Regions from separate parts of the Homo sapiens genome. Here all the other regions are linked to region 4. Evidence: promoter capture Hi-C in 16 types of primary human blood cells and fetal thymus (Javierre and others, 2016). All regions are on one chromosome and are shown on one strand. Each heading gives the region's core, a stretch centred on a gene start or on the middle of the fragment in contact. The rest is flanking DNA. Distances are from core to core; before and after follow the strand shown. Region 1 holds the start of LOC105378608 (a long non-coding RNA gene). Region 2 overlaps MEGF6 (multiple EGF like domains 6). Region 3 overlaps MEGF6 (multiple EGF like domains 6). Region 4 holds the start of CCDC27 (coiled-coil domain containing 27).

The links. Contacts are between HindIII fragments. The CHiCAGO score rates a contact against its expected background, and 5 or more counts as called.
Region 1: a contact is called between a fragment that was not itself captured here and the fragment with the promoter of CCDC27 in region 4, in 1 of 17 cell types (neutrophils). The highest score is 5.4, in neutrophils.
Region 2: a contact is called between a fragment that was not itself captured here and the fragment with the promoter of CCDC27 in region 4, in 1 of 17 cell types (neutrophils). The highest score is 6.2, in neutrophils.
Region 3: a contact is called between a fragment that was not itself captured here and the fragment with the promoter of CCDC27 in region 4, in 3 of 17 cell types (neutrophils, activated CD4 T cells and monocytes). The highest score is 12.9, in neutrophils.

What each region holds. Positions count from the first base shown.
Region 1 is chr1:3,547,569-3,550,268 of GRCh38, forward strand. The region is part of intron 4 of MEGF6 (multiple EGF like domains 6); the gene reads right to left. LOC105378608 (a long non-coding RNA gene) reads left to right here and starts at 912. Exons shown (of 3, transcript XR_946886.3): 1 at 912-1,840; 2 at 2,170-2,223; 3 at 2,685-2,700. RefSeq lists an enhancer at 1-467. The HindIII fragment of the contact is 6,080 bases long and covers 1-2,700 here.
Region 2 is chr1:3,522,739-3,525,448 of GRCh38, forward strand. MEGF6 (multiple EGF like domains 6) reads right to left here. Exons shown (of 37, transcript NM_001409.4): 5 at 1,386-1,508. Among named protein-coding and RNA genes, the nearest start is that of MIR551A, 37 kb to the right of the region's middle. RefSeq lists an enhancer at 421-960. The HindIII fragment of the contact is 4,070 bases long and covers 1-2,710 here.
Region 3 is chr1:3,505,685-3,508,384 of GRCh38, forward strand. It overlaps MEGF6 (multiple EGF like domains 6), which reads right to left. Exons shown (of 37, transcript NM_001409.4): 14 at 2,111-2,239; 15 at 424-552. Among named protein-coding and RNA genes, the nearest start is that of ARHGEF16, 52 kb to the left of the region's middle. The HindIII fragment of the contact is 736 bases long and covers 883-1,618 here.
Region 4 is chr1:3,751,042-3,753,753 of GRCh38, forward strand. It overlaps CCDC27 (coiled-coil domain containing 27), which reads left to right and starts at 1,409. Exons shown (of 12, transcript NM_152492.3): 1 at 1,409-1,758. The coding sequence starts at 1,441. The HindIII fragment of the contact is 5,281 bases long and covers 1-2,712 here.

The DNA.
Region 1 (2,700 bases), core at 27-2,526, 200 kb before region 4:
CCTGCACAGCCACTCCCCCTCCCGCCTTCGGACAGCCCCAGGCCCCATCCTCCCTTCCTGGCGCGTCTCTGGGGATCACGTGGCATCTGAGTTGGGCCTGGAGAGCAGGTTAGGAGCCCTGAACACCACATCAAGTTGCTGAGCCCAGCCTGCCAGGACCCAGAGCCCATGCCCTAGCCCGCCCTCCGTCTTTGCGGGTGCGGGAATGTGGCAGTTCTCCCGGGGTGCGCCTCTGCCTGGTTCAGGCAGCAGGACTTCCCCCGGGACTTGGTCCTGGGCAGAGGCAGCGTCACTGCCTCCCCACACAAGTGACTGGGCTGGTAGGAGCATCGAGGGAAGAAGGGAATCAAGTGACCTGCCTTGAGAAGGTGTGGGACCCAACTTGAGGTGACGCAGGGACCAGGCGCCTCTGCCCACCCACCCCTGCTGAACTGCACCATCCAAACTTCCAGGAATGTTCAGCCCCCTGTGCCCCCGCCTCTAGAGGCCAAAGACCAGGCCCTCCCCAGCTGCATGGGGATCGGAACCTGGAGGCAGGCTCAGAGCCAGTGGAGCCCCCAGCATGCTGAGGACGCAGATGGCCAGACGCCAGCCCAGCCCACAGGGTGCTGTTCCCAGAAGATGAGGCCGACCTTTCCCACCAGCACCCCAGACAGACGGAACACAGCGCGGGCCTTTCCGGACCTGAGCTGGCCCAAAGCTCCCCAGTGCCGGGGGCATTTCTCTCTGCACCTCCTCAGGACGGGCCCTGGAAGAGCCCCGGGCGGGGCCAAAGGCCTCGGGGCGGCCACAGTCCCATGAGAACGGGCCAAGCGGAATGCAGGCCAGCCGTCTCCGGACTGTTGGAATGCAGCTGTCAGCACAGCCCTGCGGAGGTCCATGGTGGGAATTTTTTGGGAATTCCTAGAGAGTTACACAGGGCGAGACGGAGGCTGGCCAAGGCCAGGGGTCAGAGCCAAGGTGCCCAGGGTCCCCTGTCTGCCTGGCCCCGACAGACTGCCCTGGCAGGCAAGCAGCAGCCCCTCCTCTGGTGTGGGGCAGGCACCCAAGCTCTGGGACCTGTCCTGACACTGGGGCCTTGAGGCCAGGTGGCTGGGAGGGCGGTGTCCAGGCAGGTGGGGCTGGACGCCAGATGAGCTTCCACACAGCTGCTGGCACAGCTGGGTCCCCAGCTTCCCAGGCCTGGAACACAGCTGGCCATGTGAGCACAGGTCCCCAGCACCGGGGCAGCCTCACAGCCACCCACCCCGACCCTGCTAGGCTCCACGGGGAAAGGAGCCCACTGCAGCTGGGGGCCTTCAGGGACCCCCCCACACCCACAGGAAAAGCCCCTTAGCCTGGCCTGGCACAGGGGCTGCAGGGTCTGGCACTCAGGACAGCCACCGCTGCCTGGTCACCCTCACTGAGGCTGCAATCGCCCCTTGTTCCCCCAAAGCCCCCAACCCCAGCATCTCCATGCTGGCTGGGACCCCGCCTTGGGTACCTGCGGGCGCCGCCTCCACCCCAGGCCGGGCTGAGCTCTAACATCCCCGTGGCTCCGCGCTGGGTGATCTGTCCCCAGCCAGACCATGCAAGCTCTGGTGGGGACTGGCCCCCCTAGTCTCGGGGCCCCCGTGCTCAGCCCAGAACAAGCCCACAAGGGCCGCAGGAGACCCTTGGTGAATGCTCAAGAAGCTGCAGGTGGACCGGCCACCAGGAGAAAAGCCAGAGCCCGACAAGGCAGCTGGGGCTCCCCCAACCCCTCAGGCTTGGGCTGGAACTCTGGGCACCACGCAGACTGATGCCCCATGGCCACAGGCAGACCAGGGCCCAGGACGGAGAAGTTCAGCTCCAGAAGCAGGTGACGGCTCCTCCCCAAAGCCAGCAGAAGCCTCTCTTTCCTCCAAAACCCAGGACCGGGGTGTTCAGGGCTCCAGTCTAGGCGAGAAGATGGGGGGCTGCCTGGGGGCTTCTGGGGGCACATGGTCATGCTCGGGTCTGGGCTGGCTGGCGGCAGGCACCCCGTTGGTTGACTGCATGCAGAAGGGTCCATCAATTCACCGAAGACACTGGCATGGGATATCCAGGGCGACTTGGCCCCGCTGCTCCCCACAGCTCACCCCGCTCTCTGGCCCCACAAGGGCTCCAGCTCGGGCTATGGGCGTCACTTATGGCCTGGAATTTACCTAGGCAACACTGCAGCCCAGGGAACCACCCGGAGGCTGACCAGCCTTCCCGTACAAGGTGAGTCTTGAGCAGGGGCCTCTCAAAGCCCAGCTACGTGGGCACCAGACAGGCCCCTTGCTCCAGCTTCTCCCAGGGATGATCCAAGCACAGGCACGGGTGGGCGGTCGAAGGTCAGAACCAGGCTAGGCTCTGAGTCTTCACCTGGAGACTCACAAAGGCTGCCCTCACCACTTCTCGCCAGCCCCAACCCAGGGGTCCCCGCTCTCCCCAGAGCTGAAGTGATCGTGGATGCCACCTGGTGAGTCCAGCCTGAAGGGTGGTGAGGGGAAGGCTCCATGCCCCCAGCCCTCCCCATCCCGGGAATTTTCTATCAGCAGAAAGTAACGGCTCCCGACACAAGACATACCCAGAGGCGCCACAGACCCAGCAGTCCCACCCCTAAGCACCTGCCCAAGATAAATAGAAACAGGGACTCAAACCACGGTGTGTGCACACGCTCACAGCAGACTTGTCCACAGCCATCAGAAAGGGGAG
Region 2 (2,710 bases), core at 171-2,670, 230 kb before region 4:
GGAGAAGGGATTAGAGGCCAGGAGAGGCCCCACTGGGCTGACACCTGGGCTGCCCTTCTACAAGGAATACCCTGCCTGAGAGGAGGGTCGAGAAAAGGACGTGCCCCCCAAGAGCTGCCTCTTCCAGGGGGCCTGAGGGGACCAGGGGGTGCAAGGCTAAAGTGCCCCAGGCTCCCAGAAGCCCCGCAGGGCAGCGGGCTGGGGCCGCACCCCCGTCTCCGTTGTCCGGAAGCACATCACAACATTCCTGCATCTGTTTCTACTTTCAGACCCAGGGAAACTTTACAGAGCGGCTGCCTGGATCCCCATGGTGGCCGGGACATGTGAGTGTGTGCCGGGGGGGGGGCCCCAGGGCTGGCGAGCTGCTCTGCCACATCACAGGCAGGACCGGGAGGGAGGCTGCTCAGAGCCGGCTTGGGCCCTGCTCCGGGCCTCCAAGGCAGGAAGAAGGGGCGTCCTGACGCCCATCACCCAGAGAATGACCCCCCATGCCTCCCAGACAGAGACCAGCAAGAGGGTCAGTCCCGTCCTTGCTTGGGGCGCCTGTGCCCAGAGCCAGCCAGGAGCAGGGGTGCCGAAGGGTGAGGGTGGCTGACTGGCTACTTACTCTTCACCCCAGATTCCTGGGCTCCAGCCCCCTGCTCAGCCCTGTGCCGGTTCCTAGAGGCCTGGCACCTCCCCTGCTTCCCTCTAACCCTCCCTCCCTGCGGCCACAGTCCGTGTCCGCGACACCTCCTCCAGCCCATTCCAATAGCCAAGAGACCCCGCAGAGGAAGCTGAGGGACAGGGTCCCGCTTCTTCGTCACCCCTACCCTACCTGCCACAGCCCACACCCTCCAGGCTCCCCAAGCTGGGCAGGGATCACCTGGGCCCACAAAGCCTGGCTCTGCGGGCGAAGGGTGTCCTCACGCAGCCCCTGCCCTGACCAGGCCTCCTCGGCCAGCGTCCCCCACCACGTAGCACGTGACCCAGGTCTCCCTCAAATCAAATGTAGGGGACATCACAACCAGGCCAGGTCCCTGCTGATAACCACGGCAGCTTCTGTTGTAGAGAATCTTTAATAGGATCTCCACCCACGGGCTCACTCCCCTGTCCACTGGGAGGGGCCTCAGCATCACAGCGGGGCTTAGTGTGGCTGCAGAGGGTCTGCAGCCAGGGTCCTGGGGACCTGGCAACTTGGCATTCAGTCCTTTTACCGGCCTGAGCCTGGGGCAAGGTGCGGGCAGGATTCCATAGAGCCATGCTCCGCAGGAAGGAGCCACTGCCAGAGCGGCCTCTGCCTCTCCATGTCCACAGCCACCCTCTCAGGCCAGGCCTGGGCACACCCCAGAGGGTAGGGATGGCTGAAGCCAGGAGCCCAGGCAGGGTCTCCAGGCGACACTCACCCAGGCAGGTCCTGCTGTCAGTGTGGAGCCGGAAGCCGGGCTTGCACTCACAGAGGTAGGAGCCTGGGGTGTTCACGCACCGGTGCTGGCAGCCACCGTTGTGGGTTCGGCATTCGTCCACATCTGAGCAGGAATGGGGAAGGATCAGCAGCTGGGCACCTGTGCCCTCCTGCTTTGCCAACACAGCCCCCCAGGTGCCGGGGGCCCAGACCCAGGTCCCTCCCGTGCCTCGAGGGCACCACCCATGAGCCCCTCACCCACATCTGCCGGAGACGCAGCAGAAGAGACAGGGTCTGTGCTTCCACCTTGGACACCTGCTCGAGAAGGAAGAGCCACCGCCTCGAGGGCCGGCCAGAAGGTGGGGAGTAGCAGAGGGCTCCAAGGACAGGCTGGGCCTCTAGCGCCTTTCAAGACTGAACCGGGAGCGCACGCGGTTTTCTTAAGTCCAAATCTACAAAGTGCTTCCTGGGCGGTGTCAACCGCTCCACCAGGACCCACAAGCCCAAAAAGAGAAACTGACAGCTTTTGAGACGGCCATGCCCAGGCTGTGGGGGGAAGCCTGAGAAAGGGGAGGGCGTGCTGGCTTCAAGAGTGTCCCCGCAGTTCATGGCCATCTGGAGCCTTCCAGTGAGGCCTTGTCTGGAAACAGGGTCTTGGCAGCTGTCCTAAGTTCAGGCTCGAGATGAGATTGTTCCGGATGAGGGTGAGCCCTAAATCCAATGCGCCTATCCCAACAAGAGACACACAGAGAGGGCCATGTGGAGACCAGGCAGATTGTGGTGACGAGGCTACGGGCTAAGGACGGCCAGAAGGAAGAGGCCAGGAAGGTCCTCTCTATGGGTTCATAGGGAGCGTGGCCCCGCGGACACCTTGGGTTCAGAATCCTGGCCTCCAGATGGCGACAGAAGAAACTTCTATAGTTTGTAGCCACCCCGTTTGCGGTGTTTGTTCCAGCAGCCCTGGGAAACCAATGCAGCTGGGGTCAGCCTGGGCCCCCCACACCCACAGGCTCCCCGTGCAAGGACCCAGAAGGCCACCATATCCCAGGACAGAAGCCTTCGCTGTGCCGGCACCCTCCCCCATGAAGTGCCACCCGCCATCCCAGAGCAGCCCAGACCCCGTCAGACCCTCCCTGCCCAAGGGCCAGCTTGGTTTAGAACCACGTGTCCTCAGGTTCCAGACTTAGCTGATGCCCCACTCAAAGGCGGTAGAGGGGAGTAGGAGAGCAGGAAGGGGTCGAGAGCAGCCTGGTCCTGAGGCCTCTCCCCGCATCTGCGCTGCCTGGACTTCCACAGCCTGGGGACCAGCCAAGGGGGCAGAGCAGC
Region 3 (2,700 bases), core at 1-2,500, 250 kb before region 4:
CCCCTGCAGCCCACCGCCCCTTCCCTGAGTGTCTGAACCCCAGGGATGGGTGACCCCACCAGGGACTCAGAGCTTGGCCTTGCTGCCAGGAATCTCCAAAAGCCAAGATAGGCCTCATCCCCCGGAGGCTTCTGCAAAAGGCCTGGCCCTGCCCTCATCTGCAGCCCTACCACCCATCAAGGCTGGGAGGCACAAGGTTGGGGACCATCCACCCAGACGCCCTGGATGCCAGCACAGTCACAGTCGAGAGGATGTGGCTTGGAGTCCACAGACTCATGGCGGACCCCAGACCTACATCCCAGTGGGTGACCTGGCTGGGCCCCGATAGCCTCATCCTAACCCAGACTACAGGTAACAGGACATGGACCATCCCTTCCACCCGCTGCCACCACCATGGACACTGGAAGGGGCAGTGAGACTCACTGAGGTGGCAGAAGCGGCCGTAGAGCCCTGGGTCGCAGAGGCAGGCCCCGTAGAGGCGGTGGCACCGGCCCCGGTTGGCACAGTTGCATTTCTTGCGACAGTGCTTGCCATAGTAGCCCTTGGGGCAGCCTGGGGGCAGCGGGGCTCCATGTGAACCTTGGTGGCAGCCAGCCTACCACATGTGGTCCCCCCATGTGGTAGGATGCGCGGGGGCCCAGGGCCCAGCACAGGAGCTGGGAGCAGCCCCCGCCAGGGCACTAGGTGAGCCTTCCGGATGTGGCCGTCTGCCCTGGCTGGTCTGTCCCCTACATCCCCTGCCCCCAGGGTTTGTGGCAAGGGCGGGTGGAAGAGCACATTCCTCGGCCCACACTGGAGAGATGCACAAAGCTCACGCCCCACTCTCCCCAAAGTCTGGCCCCCATCAGGAGCCGCCTGACTTCTGTCCCCTGGTGGTCACTAAGCTTGATCTCAGAGCCTCAAAGCGGGAAGGACACGTGGCCCCAGTAGACAAGGTCCCAGGCCCAAGCCGCAGGTGGCCCCAGAGCTAGAAAGGTCCTCGCCTTTCTTCCCCAAACAATTCTCTCTGGCTGGGTCCTGCCCCACGTCCTTCCTCCTACTGAAGGCGGTAGTCAGCTGAAGGTACCCCCACAACTACATACACGTCCTAGTCCCCAGGACCTGGAGACTAGGCACAGTTGCATTTCTTGCAACAGTGCTTGCCATAGTAGCCCTACATTATCCAGGCTGGCCCTGAATCCAAAGACAAACATCCTCATCTGAGAGGCAGGCGGAAGCCGAGACAGAAAGAGGAGGCCTGGAGAAGGGGAGGTGACCCCTCAACGCTGCAGGCAGCCTGGAGGGTACAGCACGATCCCAGGGGTGCAGCACCCAGGAATGAATACGGGGGTTCCCCAGCACCCTGTAGAATAGAAAGGGCAGACAAAGTGGGGAAGGGAGGCACACTGACAGGGAAGAGGTAGGAAGCCCTGTGTGGCTGCCTGGGGTCCCCACCACCACCAGGCAACCAGCCCTGCAGAGCCCAGCACATACGGCCAGGAAAGCTCACGGGGCCACCTGGGGGACAGGTTCTAGGGTTGGCTGTCTTCCTCTCACAAAGGCAGAAAGTTTATGATACGTTAGCTGCACTCTCCATCGAAAGAGGCAGAAATGATGAAGTCTGAAGACTTAAAGATGAAGCTTTAGCCACCTGGGAAACATTTTCTGGACTAATTCCTCCAGAAAGGCTGAAACTTCAGAGTTAATAAGGGAGCCAACATCATCCCTTGCAGCCACTGGCCCCCAAGTAATCCCTTCTGCAAACCTCACCCAGCCATCACCAGCTCTACTTGAATGCTTCCAGGAACAGGGACCTCACTGCCTCTCAAGGGAACCCATTCCAAAAGTGCTGCTCTGTAGTCTTATCGTCTGCTACAGTTAGGCCCTGGGAAAATTAGCAACAGTGAAAAAGCAATACCCCTCTCATTCAAGGGCCTCATTCTCTCTCAAGCACAGCCTAAAGCTCTGGAGACAGGGAGGCAGGAAGGAAAGGGAGTCTAGGAAAAGTTTGGTAGCAGTTTCCCTGCTCCAGTGGGAGGAAGGAGACAAGGAGGACGTGGAGGGGTGGTGTCTCCCACTTCCCTTACAGCCCAGGGGTAATTCCAGAAGCACCAGAAGAGGCTGCACGCACCATCCTCACAGTTAGTTCCACTGACACCCGGGGGGCAGCGGCAGGCCCCCGTGACAGAGTCGCAGGTCCCACCATTCTGACAGCTGCAGGAGAAGCTGCAGTTCTTCCCAAAGGTGTCCGGAGGACAAGCTACAAAGAATGACAGGGAAGCGTCAGGGTCACCAGCCAGCACGACACTCTGAGACCCCTTCCTAGGGTTGGAGGCTTGGGTTTAGAAGCAGTTGCCTAGAGATAAAATGATGGCACTTGTACCACATCACCCCTGCCCATGCTCATGGCAGACATCACTAATTGATCACTGACTCCTCTCTCTGAACACCAGCAGAGAGAGGAGTCTCCTCCTTCTGAACCAGCTCTTTCAAACAGGCAGAGCCTCACTGACAGTTATGACGGGTCCCTGGCCATCTGAGCTAGAGGAACCCCACCTGCCGGCTGCCCTTCAGCAGACACCCCTCACTGTCTTAGTTATTTGCTGGCTTGCTTGTTGCTGGACCGTGAAGACTGATATTTAGGAAGGACAAACACTTTAACTTGCTTGTTCCCAGGGAATCCTTACTGCCTGGAACAGTGCGTGGCATAGAGTGGACAGT
Region 4 (2,712 bases), core at 159-2,658:
AAGTGAAACATAAATCTAGCCTACGTGCACATCCAGGCACAGTACTTTTCCTTAAACTTATTCATGATACAGATTCCTTTGCTCACGTTTCCCTTCTGACCTTCTCCCCACCATCACCCTGTTGCCCTGCCACACTCCCCTCACCAAGGTAGTAAAAACAGTGATCCATAAATACTGAGGGAACTCAGAGACCAGCGCCGATGCAGGTCCTTGCATGCTGAGTGTGCCGGTCCCCTGGGCTGACTGTTCTTTCTCTATACTTTGTCTCTGCGTCTTGTTTCTTTTCTCAGTCTCTCATCTCCACCTGAAGAGAAATACCCACAGGTGTGGATGGGGCAGGCCCCCTTCAAATTTCCTTCAGTCAGCAAGCAGAGAAGCCTTTCTTCCCATTCAGACCCTAATCAAGGCTTCTGAAGGTAGGGGTTTTGTCTTTCTCTCCTTAAAAGATGTCTTGAGGTAGGCATTTGAAGCCTGGAAAATCATTCCCAGGGAGTCAGGCTACTCTTATCTACTCTTCTAGGTATTTCTTGGCCAAATGTTTCTAATCCCAGAGCCCACCCCCTAAACCTTTTTTTTTTGAGATGGAGTCTCACTCTGTTGCCCAGGCTGGAGTGCTCTGGTGCGATCTCTGCTCACTGCAAGCTCCGCCTCCTGGGTTCACGCCATTCTCCTGCCTCAGCCTCCCAAGTAGCTGGGACTACAGGCGCCCGCCACCACGCCCGGCTCATTTTTTGTACTTTTAGTAGAGACGGGATTTCACTGTGTTAGCCAGGATGGTCTCGATCTCCTGACCTCGTGATCCGCCCACCTCGGCCTCCCAAAGTGCTGGGATTACAGGCATGAGCCACCGCACCCAGCCTAACCTTTTCTAATACAATTACTGTCTTCAAGCCAGCACATGGAGACATTTGAGCTGGACTCCTGTGTCCTTGGGAGCTGACTTTTCTTTTTTTCTTTTCTTTCTTTTTTTTTTTCTTTTTTTCTTTTTTCTTTTGGAGATAGGGTCTCACTCTGTAGTCCAGGCTGGAGTGCAGTGACGTGAACACAGCTCACTGCAACCTCGACCTCCCCAGGCTCAGGTGATCCTCTCATCTCAGCCTCCTGAGGAGCTGGGACTACAGGTGCACGCCACCATGCCTGGCTAATTAAAATGTTTAACTCCTGGGCTCAAGCATGCCTCCCACCTGGGCATCCCAAAGTGCTGGGATTACAGGTGTGAGCCACCACACCCAGCCCAGAAGGCAACCTTCAATATTGAGCTTTGCTCTTCTCAAAAACCTGGTGTCACAGCACTGGCCTCCAGCGCATCCAGCCGCGGGCCCCTTTTGCTCAATAACGGTTTCTATGGAGACATCTGTGATGCCACCACTGCTCCCAGGAGCCCACAGGACCTGGAGCTCTGGAAGCTGATCTCCTCCCACTGCACCAGCCAGCAGGTTCATGTTCGAGGCCATCTTCCCCTCCACACCCCAAGCCAGGCTGAAGAGAGATCCACGGGAAAAGCCGGGCCTGTCCTCATTCAGGTCCACATTCAGGCAACAAAGCTCACTTGGTCTTTGCATCCCACGCCTCATGTTACCTAAGGAGGCCAGCCCATCTCAGAGGCACAGTTCGATGTCCAGCTCGATGGCCAGGGCCCTGGTGCTCCTCCAGAGCATGGCCAGCCGGGACGCCCGGTGCCCAGAATGGAAACCGCACCAAAAGCCACGCACGCTCAGCAAGTCGGTCCAGACCATCAGCCGCTACTACAGGAAGACGGTATGGGGTCCCGGGAGGAGGGCTGCCACGAGCCTTGAGGTGACCTGTTTCTTCTCCTCCCCAAAGGCCCATAGAGCTGTCAGCCCACAAAGCATTCCACAGGCCTTCTGGTGATGGGTTACCAAAGGGGGATTCCAGGCAGGCAACGAATTGAGCGCTAGGGGTGGAAAGAGCCCTGCGGTCCTCTCCCTTTCTGAAGGGCCTGGTGCCTTAGTCCCCACATGCCACCGGCTTCTTCTGGGTTAGCTGCTTTGGGTTGGTCCTCCCCTCTTGCAGACCTTGGCTCCCGGTGTCTCTGGTTGGCCAAGGGGAGAAGATGTACAGTTTGCCCCAAGACTCCCAAGGTGCATCTTGAAAAGGAGAGTGAAGGGGAGAAAATGTGAAAGGGGACCTCAGCCAGTCAGGTACGCTGTGCCACCGTGTACTGGGGGAGCCCGAGATGGTCACCCCGGCTCCTGGCAGCTTCCTGGGTGAATGCATTGCCTGGACCTAGTGGACTATGGTTTCTTTTTTTCTTTTTCTTTTTTTTTTTTTTTTTTTTGAGACGGAGTTTCACTCTTGTCACCCGGGCTGGAGTGCAATGGCGCGATCTTGGCTCACCGCAACCTCCACCTCCTGGGTTCAAGTGATTCTCCAGCCTCAGCCTCCAGAGTAGCTGGGATTACAATGTGCCACCTTGCCCGGCTAATTTTATTTGTTTGTTTGTTTGTATTTTTAATAGAGATGGGGTTTCTCCATGTTGGTCAGGCTGGTCTCAAACTCCCAACCTCATGTGATCTGCCCGCCTTGGCCTCCCAAAGTGCTGGGATTACAGGCATGAGCCACCATGCCCGGCTGGACTATGGTTTCCAAAGTGGGTCTGCGTGGCTCTTGCTGAGCATCCAGTGTGCTGGAGAGGGGACAGAGGGGACACACTGCTGCAGCCTGCACACACGCAGGCCCTTTCAACCCCAG